3 separate regions of the Homo sapiens genome follow, and all the other regions are linked to region 3. The links are contacts of gene promoters, found by promoter capture Hi-C in blood cells and fetal thymus (Javierre and others, 2016). All regions are on one chromosome and are shown on one strand. Each heading gives the region's core, a stretch centred on a gene start or on the middle of the fragment in contact. The rest is flanking DNA. Distances are from core to core; before and after follow the strand shown. Region 1 has its middle 36 kb from the start of SUPT20HL1. Region 2 overlaps SUPT20HL1 (SUPT20H like 1). Region 3 holds the start of POLA1 (DNA polymerase alpha 1, catalytic subunit).

Region 1 (4,517 bases), core at 1,455-3,954, 300 kb after region 3:
GCATCTACATGCATACCAATACCAAGGGAATTTCTTTCGCTTTTTTTTTTTTAACTAAACAGTAGGACAGCTGTTTCTACAAAGCCCATAATTCAAATGTTGTGACTGGGATGCTTCTAAAGTTTCCCTTTTCAGTGGGTAACACCTGATAAACCAATTCCCTCCTGGGTATTCATGTGTAACTAGAAGCCTCAATGATGTAGACACAGCTGTGGTAGTCATAGAAAGGATTGGCTATGGGGTTCAGACCAGCGGTATGCTATAACAGACTTGCACCAACTTGCAAGAGCTGATTGTTAAATCATCAGGAATTTTGCAAGCCAGTTGTTAAACACAGTCATTATTAAAAATTAAATTACATAAACATACACTAGACCTCACCCTGCAGCTCAACTCTGCCCTCAGTTCCCAGGGCCCATCCTGCAAGATGTCTATAGTAGCAGGTCACCTGACTGTGGCTGTGTCCCAGTTATGATTCCTGAACTTTTCCTTTACGCCCTGGCACTGCCTGGTCATAGCTCCTCCCCCAAACCCAAGCCCAGCTCCTGTTATACGGAGTCTTCTTTGGTCCTGTTGTCTTTCTGTTCAGGGAATCTCATTTGGGCTGTAACTCAGAGCTCCTTGTAGGCTTGACTCTTGCTTTACTCTTGAAAATCACTCTCCCAGATTCTAATATCTTTTGCCAAACCCTAGCCAAGTGACCAGCACTTTCAGCCTCTCAAAAGAGCTGTATGTTGACTGCCTGCCCTGACCCAAACACTAATCATAACTCCTAACCCTAATCCCTATCCTCTAGCCCTAGACCAAACTTGAAATCCTAATGCTAACCCTAATCTAAACTCCTAAAAATCACCCTAAATCCTAGCCCTAATGGTTGCTCAAACCCTTAACCCTAACCCAAACACCAAACTCCACCACAACACTAACCCCACATTCTATCACATAACTCCAATCCCTACTACCTAACCCTAACCCCCCAAACCCAACCCTAACATGTAACTCCAATGCCTAACCTTAATCCCCAACCCTAACCCTAACTCCTAACCCTAACCTCACCCCTAACCCCCAATCTCTTTCTCCAGGATCCTCTGCCCGCCTTCCCACTGCTACAACCACTTCTCCATGCTCCCTTACTGGGTCAGCTGCTTTTCTAGAGAAGGACTCTATTTCCCCAAGCCCTTTAGGCCAGTCTAGGCCAACCAGCTGGAAACTCTTTGGTCAACACTTGGAGGCTTCTCTGAGTGCCTGAACCATATTTGGGTCTAACTTTCCAATCCCAGCATCTCCCCGCCAGCCCAATCCTGCTCTCAAAAATCATTTCTCTCCCAGCCCAATCCCGAGACAGATGACAAGCATCAGTTACATGGGAAATTAATTTAGGCGAAAAAACTCTTCCTTCCGAATGTAAATTAGGCAGCTTGGACTCTGGAGCCAGCCTGCTCAGCCACTTAACTCCTTGCGTAACCTTGGGCAAGTTACCTTTCCTCCATATGTTCCTCTATAAAATGGGTGTAATAATAGCACCTCTCTCATAGGGTGGTTGTGAGGACTAAAATGAGTTGATATATAAAAGCACTTAGAACAGTACCTGGCACCATAGTAACCACTAAGGAAATGTTTGCTTTTGTAACATTATTATGACTATTACCCAAAAAAAGTGTACATTTTCCTTTTCAGACTCAACTTGCTTTTATGAAGAGGGCAAAAAAAAAAAAAAAACAACAACAAACTAAACATGCTTATTTTAGAAATACAACAAAGAACAGAAAAGTATTAAAAAGAAGGAAAAAAAATAACCCACATCCAGCCAGCTACTTAGATTTCAAGGACAAAAGATAATTTGACTTTGCGAACGTCTGCATATTAGTAGATTTTGAGTTGCTGCAGCCAGACCCAGCCAAGCAGAGCTGTACTTTTATTTTATTTTGCTCTTGGCACTCAACTATAATTCCAGGCATAACATGGGGTCTCTGTATGTTTGTCTTTCCCATTAGGTTGGAAGCTCCCAGAGGAGAGAAACAGTGTCGTTTTAATCCCTGCATTGCCAGTAATGCCCAGCACAGAGCCAGGCCAGGAAAGATGCTCTCTAAATGACTATGTGCCTTGTTCCCCACAGTTGTAACTAGTTTGGAATTCAGTTTCACAGCTCTTTGCTCAGAAATACAGGTTTCTAGCAGAACTATCCTTGAAATAAAATGTAAGAAAAGAATTTCCCAGTGGAATTTGTTGGGGTTTTGTATTACCTCTTCTCACAAATCTTTCAAAAGACTGCTTTCCTCCATTGGGTAATTTCAAACATTTTTACCACTGGGTAACATAGCTCATTAAAGCAGTAATTTTCCACTTGCAGGTACAAAAATGAAAAGAAGACTGGCCAAAACCATTCGCCAAAGAAACATGGCATCTGTTCAGAGCTTATTATTTTTACTAGCTGCCTGCCAAAGACCACAAACCAACGGAGGGCTCTTACTCAACACAGACAACTGTATTCTAATCGACATTGTTCCCTCTCTTAAGTAAGCTTACCAAGTGATAGCAAGTGCCACTCAAGCAGTAAAATGAGAAATGGAAACATGAGGCTTAATGTAGCATGAACATGGGGTTTTTTTAATTGCTTTTTTAAGAAAAATTTGGAGGGAGCAAAAGGATTGAACAGACATGTCAATTTCAGTGAGTAATCCCGCTTTCCATCCTAGCCCACTCTGCCCTCACCTTTCGCTTTGATCTTCTCTCCAGTTGGCCTGATATTCATGGCAGAAAAAGCTGGTCTAACCACACTTTCCTCTTTCCATAAAGGCATTTTATGATGTTTCCATGCAAACCCAATATTCTTACTGACAGTGAAGTAGGGGACAGAGGCAATAAAAAAAGTGGATGTGAAAGCTTACAATACAAAAGAAGAAAGGCTCTTCTCCCAAGTTATGAACAGCTTCTAAATCACATAGAGCATCAGCATCGGCAGAAAATAGATGTGTATGAAAGATATGCTTATGTGTTACATAAATCTATGTGTCTGCCTGCAAAAACTGATAATTAAGAAGCAGAAGAAAGTAATCAAGACTTGACTCTGTATCCCAAAACTCAGGAAAGTGCCAGGGTTGTTTTGTCATTGGTGTTTTTCCTCCCCAGTAATAGATTCTCTTCCCTCTTCCACAAGCATTTTGTAAGGCTATGTTTAGAATAGACGTCAGAGCTGGGAAACCAACCTGCAAAGCAAGACTTTCCCAAGGGTGTCATCTTGTGGTGCTTCTGTGTATTACAACATTTCTTCGACCTGATGCAGACCACAGCTGGAAACAAGAGGCAAATAACTGTGAATCAGTCCTTTGATTTACAAAGTTGAATCAGTCCTTCGATTTACAAAGTTGAACCTTTGCGACTTGGCATTAGATAGTGTGTGGTGGGTGTCAAACACACAGGTGCTGAGAGATGGTTTAAAATTTTTAAGTGCTGCCATAATGTGGAAGTCATACATCAGGAGACAGAATGTTTGGTCGGCCTGAACATTCAGCTAGTTTCATAAAATAGCACACTCAGCACCCCCCTTTTTTTGTATCAAGCCATAAAAATGTTTACAGGCCGGGCACAGTGGCTCACACTTGTAATCCCAGCATTTCGGGAGGCCGAGGTGGGCAGATCACCTGCAGTCAGGAATTCGAGACCAGCCTGACCAACATGGAGAAACCCCCGTCCCTACTAAAAATACAAAATTAGCCGGGCGTGGTGGCGCATGCCTGTAATCCCAGCTACTCGGGAGGCTGAGGCAGGAGAATTGCTTGAACCTGGGAGGCAGAGGTTGCGGTGAGCCGAGATCGCGCCATTGCACTCCTGCCTGGGCAACAAGAGTGAAACTCTGTCTCAAAAAAAAAAAAAAAAAAAAAAAGGTTTACAAAGGGTCACTGAGGAAAGATTCATGAAAATACAACTTCTATAGAAAGGACTTAGAATCGCTGCATTTTAGAGATAGAAGAATCCCTTTAGAGGTGGGCTTAAGCTGGGGACCATAGTCCTGCTTTAGGAAAAATGAACTCCTTGAAATTGAACATAAAGAGTAGTGTTGGCACATACCGGCATTTTAATACATAGAGAATCTATCATTTTTATCAGATTATCAAAAGAGTCCGTGGCCTAAAGAAGATTAAGAACTAATGCTTGGGGCCAGGCGTGGTGGCTCATGCCCATAATCCCAGCACTTTGGAAGGCCAAGGTGGGCAGATCACTTAAGGCCAGGAGTTCGAGACCAGCCTGGGCAACATGGTCAGGGGGGAAACCCCCTGACCATGGGGAAACCCCATCTCTACTAAAAATACAAAAATTAGCCGGGCATGGTGGTAGGCACCTGTAATCCCAGCTACTCGGGCAGCTGAGGCAGAATTACTTGAACCCGGGAGGCAGAGGTTGCAGTGAGCCAAGATCGTGCCACTGCACTCCAGCCTGGGCGACAGAGTGAGACTCTGTCTCAAAAAAAAAGAAAGAAAGAATGCTTGAGATCCTAGCCTCATATCCTCTACAAAAAT
Region 2 (4,716 bases), core at 182-2,681, 320 kb after region 3:
AGGTCTGCATGAAGGCAAAGTTGGCATCCAGTTTTACTGCCTGGGCTCGTGTGGAGCTGCACAGACCCGCAGGCCCACACTGGACCACCCTGGAGCCTTGGAAACTGTGGGCGAGCTTGACGCATATTCTTTGAGGGATGTGTTGTATGTGAACCTGGAGTCTGGTGCCCCCTTGTGGTCTAGAGACATCTGAACGTGAGCGGTTCAAAAGGTACTGAGGGGCGGTGTGCCCGGAAAGCAAATGGGAGCATCACTTCCACCTTGATCCCGTGAGCCCACAGCTTCTGAATTTGGAAAGGCTCCACAGGAAGGAGCACAGCAGGGCTTACTAAGAGAGCCGCTCTTCAAGAGGCCCCAGAGGAGTCAGAATCCAAGTGAAGTTCAACACCGTCGCCGCAGAAAAAAGAACCAGCCCCGTGCTCAGAGACCCTTCACCTCACTCAGCAAATCAGAGCATCACACCTGCAAAAGGACCATTTTCGCAGGAAGATTTCTCTCTCCCTTCTCTCGTCCTCCCCCACCCACCAGACCAGAGAATACGATATTGAAATTGTAATTGGGACTGTCAGCTTTACCAAACAAGAGAGCCCAGCAAGTCATGAGGTCCACCCAAGGTGTCATTAAAGGATGGGAAAAGGGACTTGGTGCTGCATGGTTGAAAGCAGTGGTTGGGAAAAATAAAATGGTTTCACCTGTATAGTCCACCACTGAGTTGAGACTCATCAATGCATCAGTTACATGTACCCAGGCACAAGGCATAGACTTCAGAAGCAGACAGAAAGGGAGCTGAAAAATTGTGCCACTTAATAGCTTTATTGCCTCAGGCAAGGACTATCTGAGCCTGTTTCTTCACTTGCAAGTAAGGATAATCATACCTAATGGACATTATGACTAGGTTATTAAAAGGATTAGAGGCAGCATATATAAATGAATAGAAGCTACTATTTATTGATGGATGTGTTGACACATGGAGGGGGCTGTTTCCAGTTTCCCAAGACAAAAGACAAATAAAAAGAACTAGTAAAGTAGAAATAAAAAATAAGAAGTGAGGAATGCTGAAGTGCCAACCATAAATGTAAACGCAGCGATTTGAGCTACAAATTTGGTTTTGAGTTTCCCGGCAGCTGAGGCACAAAGAGAAACCTCAGAACTTGCACAACTACAGTTATCAGAAAGGAGGAAGGATGCCTTCTCAGGAGAGACAAAGCTTTTCCTGGCTCCAAATTTCAAAAGCAACATCTCAGAAGTTTTTCTGCATTGGCTTGTAAATTACCTGAAACCTTGACTAATCTTTACCAAGGGGTTTCTAAAGCTTTAGAACTAGTGATGTAGTAATTGGGACTGGGACAAATTATTGAAGGTGAATGACCTAGATCTCTACACTCTGGATCACAGTGGTATTCTGCAGCAATTACTCTCCTATAATTCTTTAAATTCTCTCAGTTGAACTTTCCCTGCTACATTCATTGTGAGATCACCCAAAGGACAATTAGACTCACCCCTTCTACCTCAAAGAAATGTTTTTATTTCCAACTCATGCAGAAGCTTCAGACTGAGGACAGATTTAAATAAAAGTATAGATATATTTTTAGATGAAATAGCTACATTCAAAAGGCTTTTCTCTTTCCCAGATGTAATTCTGGCCTACAAAAGCCACACTGCTCTCCCTTCAAAGGCCACAGTCACCTTTCAGGGGTATTAGCACATGAAGTAAACAGCCTTTGCAAAACAGTGCTACAGGTGAGCTTTCCCACCCCAACTGCAGAGGCACCTCCACTAATCTGCAAATGCTAACGTGGGTTTCCAGGGAAGTTGCCAAAATAAGCTCCTGTCCTCCCTCACCTTTACTTTAATCCCCAAATAGGTTTTGCTTTTACCATATGGTAATTATTTCCAAATCATAAGTGCAAACACTCACTCTGATTGGAAAATTAGCAGATTTCAAACTCAGGTAATTTGTCCCTAATGAGGAACTTGTTGAACTGAATTTAACAATTAACTCGCACACCCTTTGCTGCCTGCTATGGGAGTAAAGCAGGGAAGACAGAAGGGCAAGTCGAGGGCTGGGGCCTGGACTTCGAGTACAAGATAAAGGTTGGGATGGGGGGAAGGTGTGTTAATGGGGCTGTAGGAATATCAGGAACTTGACTATTCAAATGGATATAATATCTATGAATTCATATATAAATGAATTTCAAACATATGCCGAAGTAGAATAGTATAATGAGTCTCCATATACCCATCAACCAGCAGCTCCCACAATTATCAACTCATGGCTGATCAGGTTTCACTTCTGCAGGAGGAGCTAGAGACCCAGAAGATGCACAGGAAGGAGGTGCAAAAGGAAGAATAAAAGAGTGGTGCCGGCCAGGCACGGTGGCTCACGCCTGTAATCCCAGCACTTTGGGAGGCCTAGGTGGGTGGATCACCTGAGGTCAGGAGTTCGAGACCAGCCTGGCCAACATGGTGAAACCCCCATCTCTACTAAAAATACAAAAATTAACTGGGCGTGGTGGCGGGCACCTGTAATCCCAGCTACTTGGGAGACTGAGGCAGGAGAATCACTTGAACCCGGGAGGCAGAGGTTGCAGTGAGCCGAGATCACGCCACTGCTCTCCTGGGCAACAGAGGAAGATTCCACCTCAAAAAAAAAAGAAAAAAAAGTGCAGTGCCTCTCCTCTCTCCCACTCCCTTAGGTTCCAAGCACTTTAGGGTAGATACGGGTTGTTGAGTTGACTGCTGGGAAAATGAGTGTCCTCCTGGTAGGTCTTTTGCATATGGCTGTACAGAGCCTGGCAAAAGACTGACCTTTTCCACCCTCCTCGCTCCATGGCTGGGGCGACTTGATCCTGCAGGTCCTGGCCCAGATGACCATAGGCCATGAGGATCTCAAGAAGCTCCAGCCCACTACATGCAATCAGCATCATAAATCTCACTCCACCTGTGTGCCCCAAACCCAGGTCATGCCTGATGCTCTGTCCCCATAATCTGCTTTGCTCCTGTCCCTCTAGAACTGCGCTGACCCACACAATAGCCACTAGCCATACATGGCTATTAAGCACTTGAAATGTGACAAGCAAGACTGAGGAACTAATTTTAAATTTCATGTACTTTTAATTAATTTAAATTTTAAAACTTGTACTTGATTCAATTATGGGAAAACTTCCAAGTATGTTTGGAAAGTGAATCTACATTTTCAACTATAAGGTTTACAAAATCTAAATACAGATCAAATATTTGATGAAAATTTGGTATATGAATTGAGAGTCTCTGCAGTCGGAAGCCTCATGTAAAATGCCTCATTGAGAATTTTAAAATATTGATAACATAGGAATGATATTTGGGATATATTTGGTTAAACAGAAATTATTATTAAAATGAATGTCTCGTTTCTTTCTACTTTAAAAAAATGTGACTACTAGAAAATTTAAAATTATATATGGGTCTCATATTATACTTCTATTGGATAGCCCTGTTCTAGGGCTAGAGTCCTCTCTTCACTTGCAATTATTCTCAAGGAATATAATCCTGTTCCCAAATTCCCACCCTGTGACAAAGGCTCAATTCCACCTGACATGTCCTGTTGTGCTGGGCCTACCTGGATTTTCCTGGATGCTCATCTGCAAGCCTACCTTCTCTGCAAACTGTCAGAACATTCTAGGGACAACTGCTTTCACACAACCACTTCACCATCAACGTTCTGCTGTTAAGCCCTGAACATGCAACCTGCAGAGAACTAATTTTGAATTTGTCCTGGGATAGCATCCAGGTTCTCATGATACTAAAATAAATAAAAAGTTTACTCACAAAATGTAGCCAGCTAATGTCTTCAAAAGGTACCCTGTATCAAAGTACCAAGTAGGTGGGGATAATTAGAAGGAAATCAACAAAGTTTGCCAAACAGTCATCTGAAACAAAGCTGAATTTATTTGCCTGCCTGGGAGGAAAGAGCCACATCACTCAAGCACAAGTTTGGCTGGTAGCTCCATGTAGTACTTGAAAGGACCAGATAGACAACAAAGGAAGGAAGTAGACCAAATCTGATGATATTCTGAGTTCAGGTCTCTAGTTGGCACCCAAAGCTAAGGAGAAACTCTTCTTTGCAACCAGTCGTTGCACTGGTTCGCTTCTTAAAAGTGCAGGCACCATTTCCAATTATGCCCAGGATGATCTGATGGACTTGGTGTCACTCAGGAAATTCGATGTGTTTTCTTGAAGTTGGCCAAGTCTTTCTTTAACAGCATCAGTAGCACATTAGTAATAGGTTTTGTCAAGTAAGATTAACCAGTTACCTGCCTCTTCACTGATGTCTTTTGGAACTGCCAGACCAAACTTCTTTTCATTTCGTTAAGGCAAAAGGCAGAGAAACATACATGTATACTTAGAAAAACAAATATTATATAAACATGGTACCCTTCAAAGCTGTAACAGAGCAAAATATAAGAGGCACTAAAACAAATACTTCTACACAAATGTTGACAGCAGCCCTATGCACGACAGCCAAAAGGCAGACAAAAACCAACTGTCTATCATCGGATGAATGTACAAAATCTGCTACATACAAACAATGGAATGTTATTGAACCACAGATAGGAATGAATTAGCAATACATTTTACAACATAGATGAACTTCAAAAACATTATGCCGAGTGAAAGAGGCCAGACACAAAAGATCACATACTGTATGACTACATTTACAGGAGATATTTAGGTAAA
Region 3 (4,477 bases), core at 1,506-4,005:
GGCCCCCATCCCTTATAAGTCTTGATGAGACGCAGAGCCTATGCCCCATTACAGAAGCTGAAAAGGTTGATGCTCTTTCCCAGACACCCTTGCAGCCTAGAGCATGGGCATATAAAATAGGCGCTACCGATTAGGAACACCTGCTCAGACATTAAATCAGAAGCTAGTGTCACAAGGAAGGGGGCATGGGTTTTAAAAGATTCTACAAGTAGCAACAGCTGCAGAAGGATTACAAAACCGGCAACAATGTCAGCAATGTCCTAAGGTATGAGCTATAGCATCAAGTACTTGCTCGTGGTTGGCAATGACCTCCTCACTGGCCCATTTTTGTGGCACAATTTCACTCACTGTTCCTGGCTAAACAGCTCCCAGACTGGCTTACTAGTCCTCCTGGAGTTTCTGTGAACACAATATTCTTCTAACAAATTCTAACCAATCTGGTAGAGTTGGTTCCTGCAGCTTACAGATAGGGGCTCTGACTGATGCAGAGCCTCAGGGTCCACATCTGTGAAATGGGGATAATCATGTCTGCTTCAAAATCTGTTAAGGATTACATGAAGATGCCTATCTTACTTTGCACTTAGCAATATAGGAGCGGCTCATGTAACGCTTCCGCGTGTGAAGTCAAACACACATCCACATACCCCACACACACCATACCTAAGAGTACCAAGGTCTAGCTTTAGAAGGCAAAAACAAAGCAAAGCCGTTTTCTGCATATGATTAGATGTTTACCATCTGTACTTCATGAAGACAAACCATGTCCAGCCTACCCACCATCATAATGCCAGAGCCTGGCAGAAGGCTTATACCTAGTAGGTATATAATAAATATTTGCTGAATGAACCAATGAATGAACCACTGTACCTGCTTTTTTGATCATTAAACTTTCCCTGGCCGGGCGCAGTGGCTCATGCCTGTAATCTCATCACTTTGGGAGGAAGAGACAGGTGGATCACCTGACATCAGGAGTTCAAGACCAGCCTGGCCAACATGGTGAAACCCTGTCTCTACTGAAAATACAAAAAATTAGCCGGTGTGGTGGTGGGCACCTGTAATCCCAGCAACTCGGGAGGCTGAGGCAGAACTGCTTGAACCCAGGAGGCAGAGGTTGCAGCCAGCTGAGATCACGTCACTGCACTCCAGTCTGGGCAACAAGAGGGAAGCTTTGTCTCAAAAATAAATAAATAAATAAAAATTCCCTGATCTTTTTTCATATATAGTAACAGCTAGTTACAGACCTTTCAACTTTTCACTGCCATTATCAAGGTGCCCTGCCTGCTAATACTGAAGAAAAAAAAAAGCCTACATTTTGTTTTTTGGAGTATGTCTCCAATGCTTCACGTAGGTAACTTAGCAAAAAAAGAATAAGCATGAAAAAAATCCAGCTACAAAGGTTTAAATATTTGTTTCAAAATTACCATCTGGAGTATCTCTATCCTCCCCAAAAGCAGACAGACACTAGCTTACAGCAGTCTTTCAGGTAACAATCCTTCAGTCTGCTCTAAAGGAAAAATTCCAGTCACAAGTCCCCAGCAACTACTTAATGAACACCATGACCTAAGAGGAGTCTCAAGATTGCACAGTATCCTCCAAAGTGATTTCCTGATGTTCATAGATGACGTAGTTTTTAGGATGAAGAAAGGGCTTAGTGGCAAATCACTGATAGAGGCCTGCAAAGACTGTTCGTTCACATACTTACACCCAACATCCTATCTGTAATCCAGGCAGGTCGACTCTCCAAAATAGTCTTAAAAAACGAACGGCTAGAACAAATTGAAATCTGTGACTCACAACTAGGTGAATGCAAAGGAAGCTGATTAGGAAGCGAGTTCTCATTAATGGTGATGTATCTGAATGACAGGAGAGGTGACGCTTGAGCTAACAAAGTGAAGCATCTGATTTTAAGTTAGAAGTTAACTGAAGTCACGCTTTAGTTGAACACTTAAAAAATCAGACAAATCTATTTGCATTTTTGTATTCTATTTTTGGAAATAAAAGACACCCCTGACAAACGGAGTGATATACAGGGGATCCGAAATGCCCTAAATTGATGCCATTTTTTTGAAACTTCACCAGGAATGACTAGATTGTGAACAGGATTTCTACGCAGCACTTGAAGAACTTTCCAAAGAATCTGAAAGAAAAATTGTTAATGCATAAAGTAGAAACCCATTACCTAAAAATACAAAACGCGTTATTCCCCGATGACAGCACTTAGAGCTTTCTTTCCTGCTTAGTTACAATGTATAAAATTTTCCTGGAAGTTCCTACAAAAAGGGACACAGATCTGTTCTGTTCAAGCCTTCAAGTGGATACTTAGGGAGATCGCAGTGAAATACTTTCGGCCCCACGGGGCCAGTCTCAATAAAGTTATACCCAGCACGTGGGTGCAACTCACCAAAAGAAATAGAAACGCAATCGACTGTGGAGACTCTCAGTGGCAGAGGTGAGACAGCCTCCCAAACAAAAATCCCTCCAGGCTCTGGTCCTCCAAGAGCAAACCGCGCCTAAAGGAAGCCCGGTCCGACGCCAGAAGGGCCCCCGCCGGGGACGACCAAGGTCTGCGCCCAAACAAACCCGGGTGTGCGCCTCCCTCAGAACCCCCACCACCGGCAATCATGCCACTGTCCCAACCCGGAGCCCCGCGCGCGGAATTGTCCCTCACCACTCGCCCCTATCTCACAGTCGTCGCCGTGCACAGGTGCCATGGTCCCGAATCTCCCGATTCCGCGCCAACCAGCCCAAAACTGGCGCGGGGGCCGAGACAGGCGCCAGCCTGAAAGCCAATCAGCGGCTCGGGAGGCTGCGGACTTCCGGCCGGAAGGCCACTGACGTGCCGCGCCGCGCCGCGCTCCGCCCCCGGCCTTCCCGCGGACGCGCGTTTGGCGCCCTGTGATGACCCCTTAGGGAAAAGCTAGAGCTGAGGGGAAGCCGGAGGAGAGCAGGAGAAAGAAGCGGTCGGGCGCTGGAAAGGAGCCGCCTGGAGACTGCGCAAGCGCACGCATGCTGATGGGAAAAGATTTGGGCGCGTGGGAGAAAGGGCGCTCTGGTTCTCAGAGCCCATTTTCCCGGAAAGGAGGCGCGGGCGGGCAGGAGAGTGGGCGTGGTTGGATCGTTTTCCCCAGAGCCGGGAAAGCGACTGCCTCCTGCTGCGCGCCCTGAATTTTGCCTGATAGTTTGCTTCTCAGCAGTCTGGATACAGTGGCTGTGTGATTAACAACTTAAAGATATATGCTCCGTCTTAACCAAATAACCAGAAGTAGCATTACCAATAAATGGCCATCTGATCTCATATGCCTCCTGATGTAATGCGTATGAAAAAGGAAAAACTTCGCCTATATGGTCTTCTTGCAAAAAATGTCTAACCTGAATCTAACCATGAAGAAACAATCAGATGTATTCAAAATGTAGGACAATCTACAAAACACCTGACGTGAACTCCAAAATTTCAATGTTATGAAAAACAAAAAGGGTATTCAATTTTTGTGTATGATACAATGGCTGTAATGTGTACATCTCATGTTATCTCTTTCCAAAAAGGTATAACATTTTTATTAAATAATGCCTGCCACACATTTGTATTTTTTCCTACATTATTGCCCACATGCTTATTGATCCCTTCTTCATGTGACAACAATTTTGTAATATTTTCTCCAAAGAGGATATAAAGATAATTCAATCTGTCTTCTAGCATGGTTGATCAATACTTGTTTCTTAATTTCTGATTGTTTAGAAAATGTCTTTCAGCTTCATAATCATTTAATATCATGTTATGTGATCCATATGTTGTGATACATAACATGTAGTAATTTACACTTAGACATAACTTCCTATTTAAAGTACTACGACAGATTTATTCCTACACTTCCCTTTTAAAAACTGATGGAAGTTTTATAGTTTTATTATCAAGCTTTTTCCAACCAGGAGAGAACCATGTTGGCTAGTCATTAATAAGAACCAAATCCTTACCTTAACAATTTCACAGCTGATTACTTCCCACATGCCCGGGTATAACTCTAGGCATTTCAAACCTCTTTTCTCTTTCACTACTGCTGTGGTCTGAATGTTTCTCTCCACATAAAATGTATGCGTTGAAACCTAATCACCAGTGTGGTGGTGTTAGGAGGTAGGGCCTCTGGGAGGTGATTAGGTCATCAGCAGGAACCCTCCCTCATGAATAGGATTAGTGCCCTCGGAAAAGAGGCTCCAGAGAGCTGCCTTGCCCCTTCTTCCATGTGAGAACAGAGCAATAAGGCACCATCTATGGACCAAAAAGTGGGCCTACCCCAAACACTGAATCTGCCGGCACCTTGATCTTGGAATTCCCAGCCTACAGCACTGTGAAAAATAAATTCCTGTTGTTTATTAGCCACCCAGTTTGTGGTATTTTGTTATAGCAGCCTGAACAGACTGAGACAATGACCCACATACTTTGTGGGAAAAGACCTGTAGGACACTTTCTCTTTTTGAGATG

Evidence for each region. The method cuts DNA at HindIII sites, captures the fragments that hold promoters and counts their contacts. A CHiCAGO score of 5 or more calls a contact.
Region 1: a contact is called between a fragment that was not itself captured here and the fragment with the promoter of POLA1 in region 3, in 1 of 17 cell types (total B cells). The highest score is 6.5, in total B cells.
Region 2: a contact is called between a fragment that was not itself captured here and the fragment with the promoter of POLA1 in region 3, in 1 of 17 cell types (M2 macrophages). The highest score is 5.1, in M2 macrophages.

The regions. Positions count from the first base shown.
Region 1 is chrX:24,394,671-24,399,187 of GRCh38, reverse strand. No RefSeq gene overlaps it. Among named protein-coding and RNA genes, the nearest start is that of SUPT20HL1, 36 kb to the right of the region's middle. The HindIII fragment of the contact is 362 bases long and covers 2,524-2,885 here.
Region 2 is chrX:24,367,031-24,371,746 of GRCh38, reverse strand. SUPT20HL1 (SUPT20H like 1) reads right to left here. Exons shown (of 1, transcript NM_001136234.3): 1 at 3,908-4,716. Among named protein-coding and RNA genes, the nearest start is that of SUPT20HL1, 8.8 kb to the right of the region's middle. RefSeq lists an enhancer at 1-241. The HindIII fragment of the contact is 233 bases long and covers 1,315-1,547 here.
Region 3 is chrX:24,692,196-24,696,672 of GRCh38, reverse strand. POLA1 (DNA polymerase alpha 1, catalytic subunit) reads right to left here and starts at 2,755. Exons shown (of 37, transcript NM_001330360.2): 1 at 2,669-2,755. The coding sequence starts at 2,711. RefSeq lists enhancers at 2,494-2,583, 4,286-4,477 and a silencer at 2,774-2,933. The HindIII fragment of the contact is 2,747 bases long and covers 1,169-3,915 here.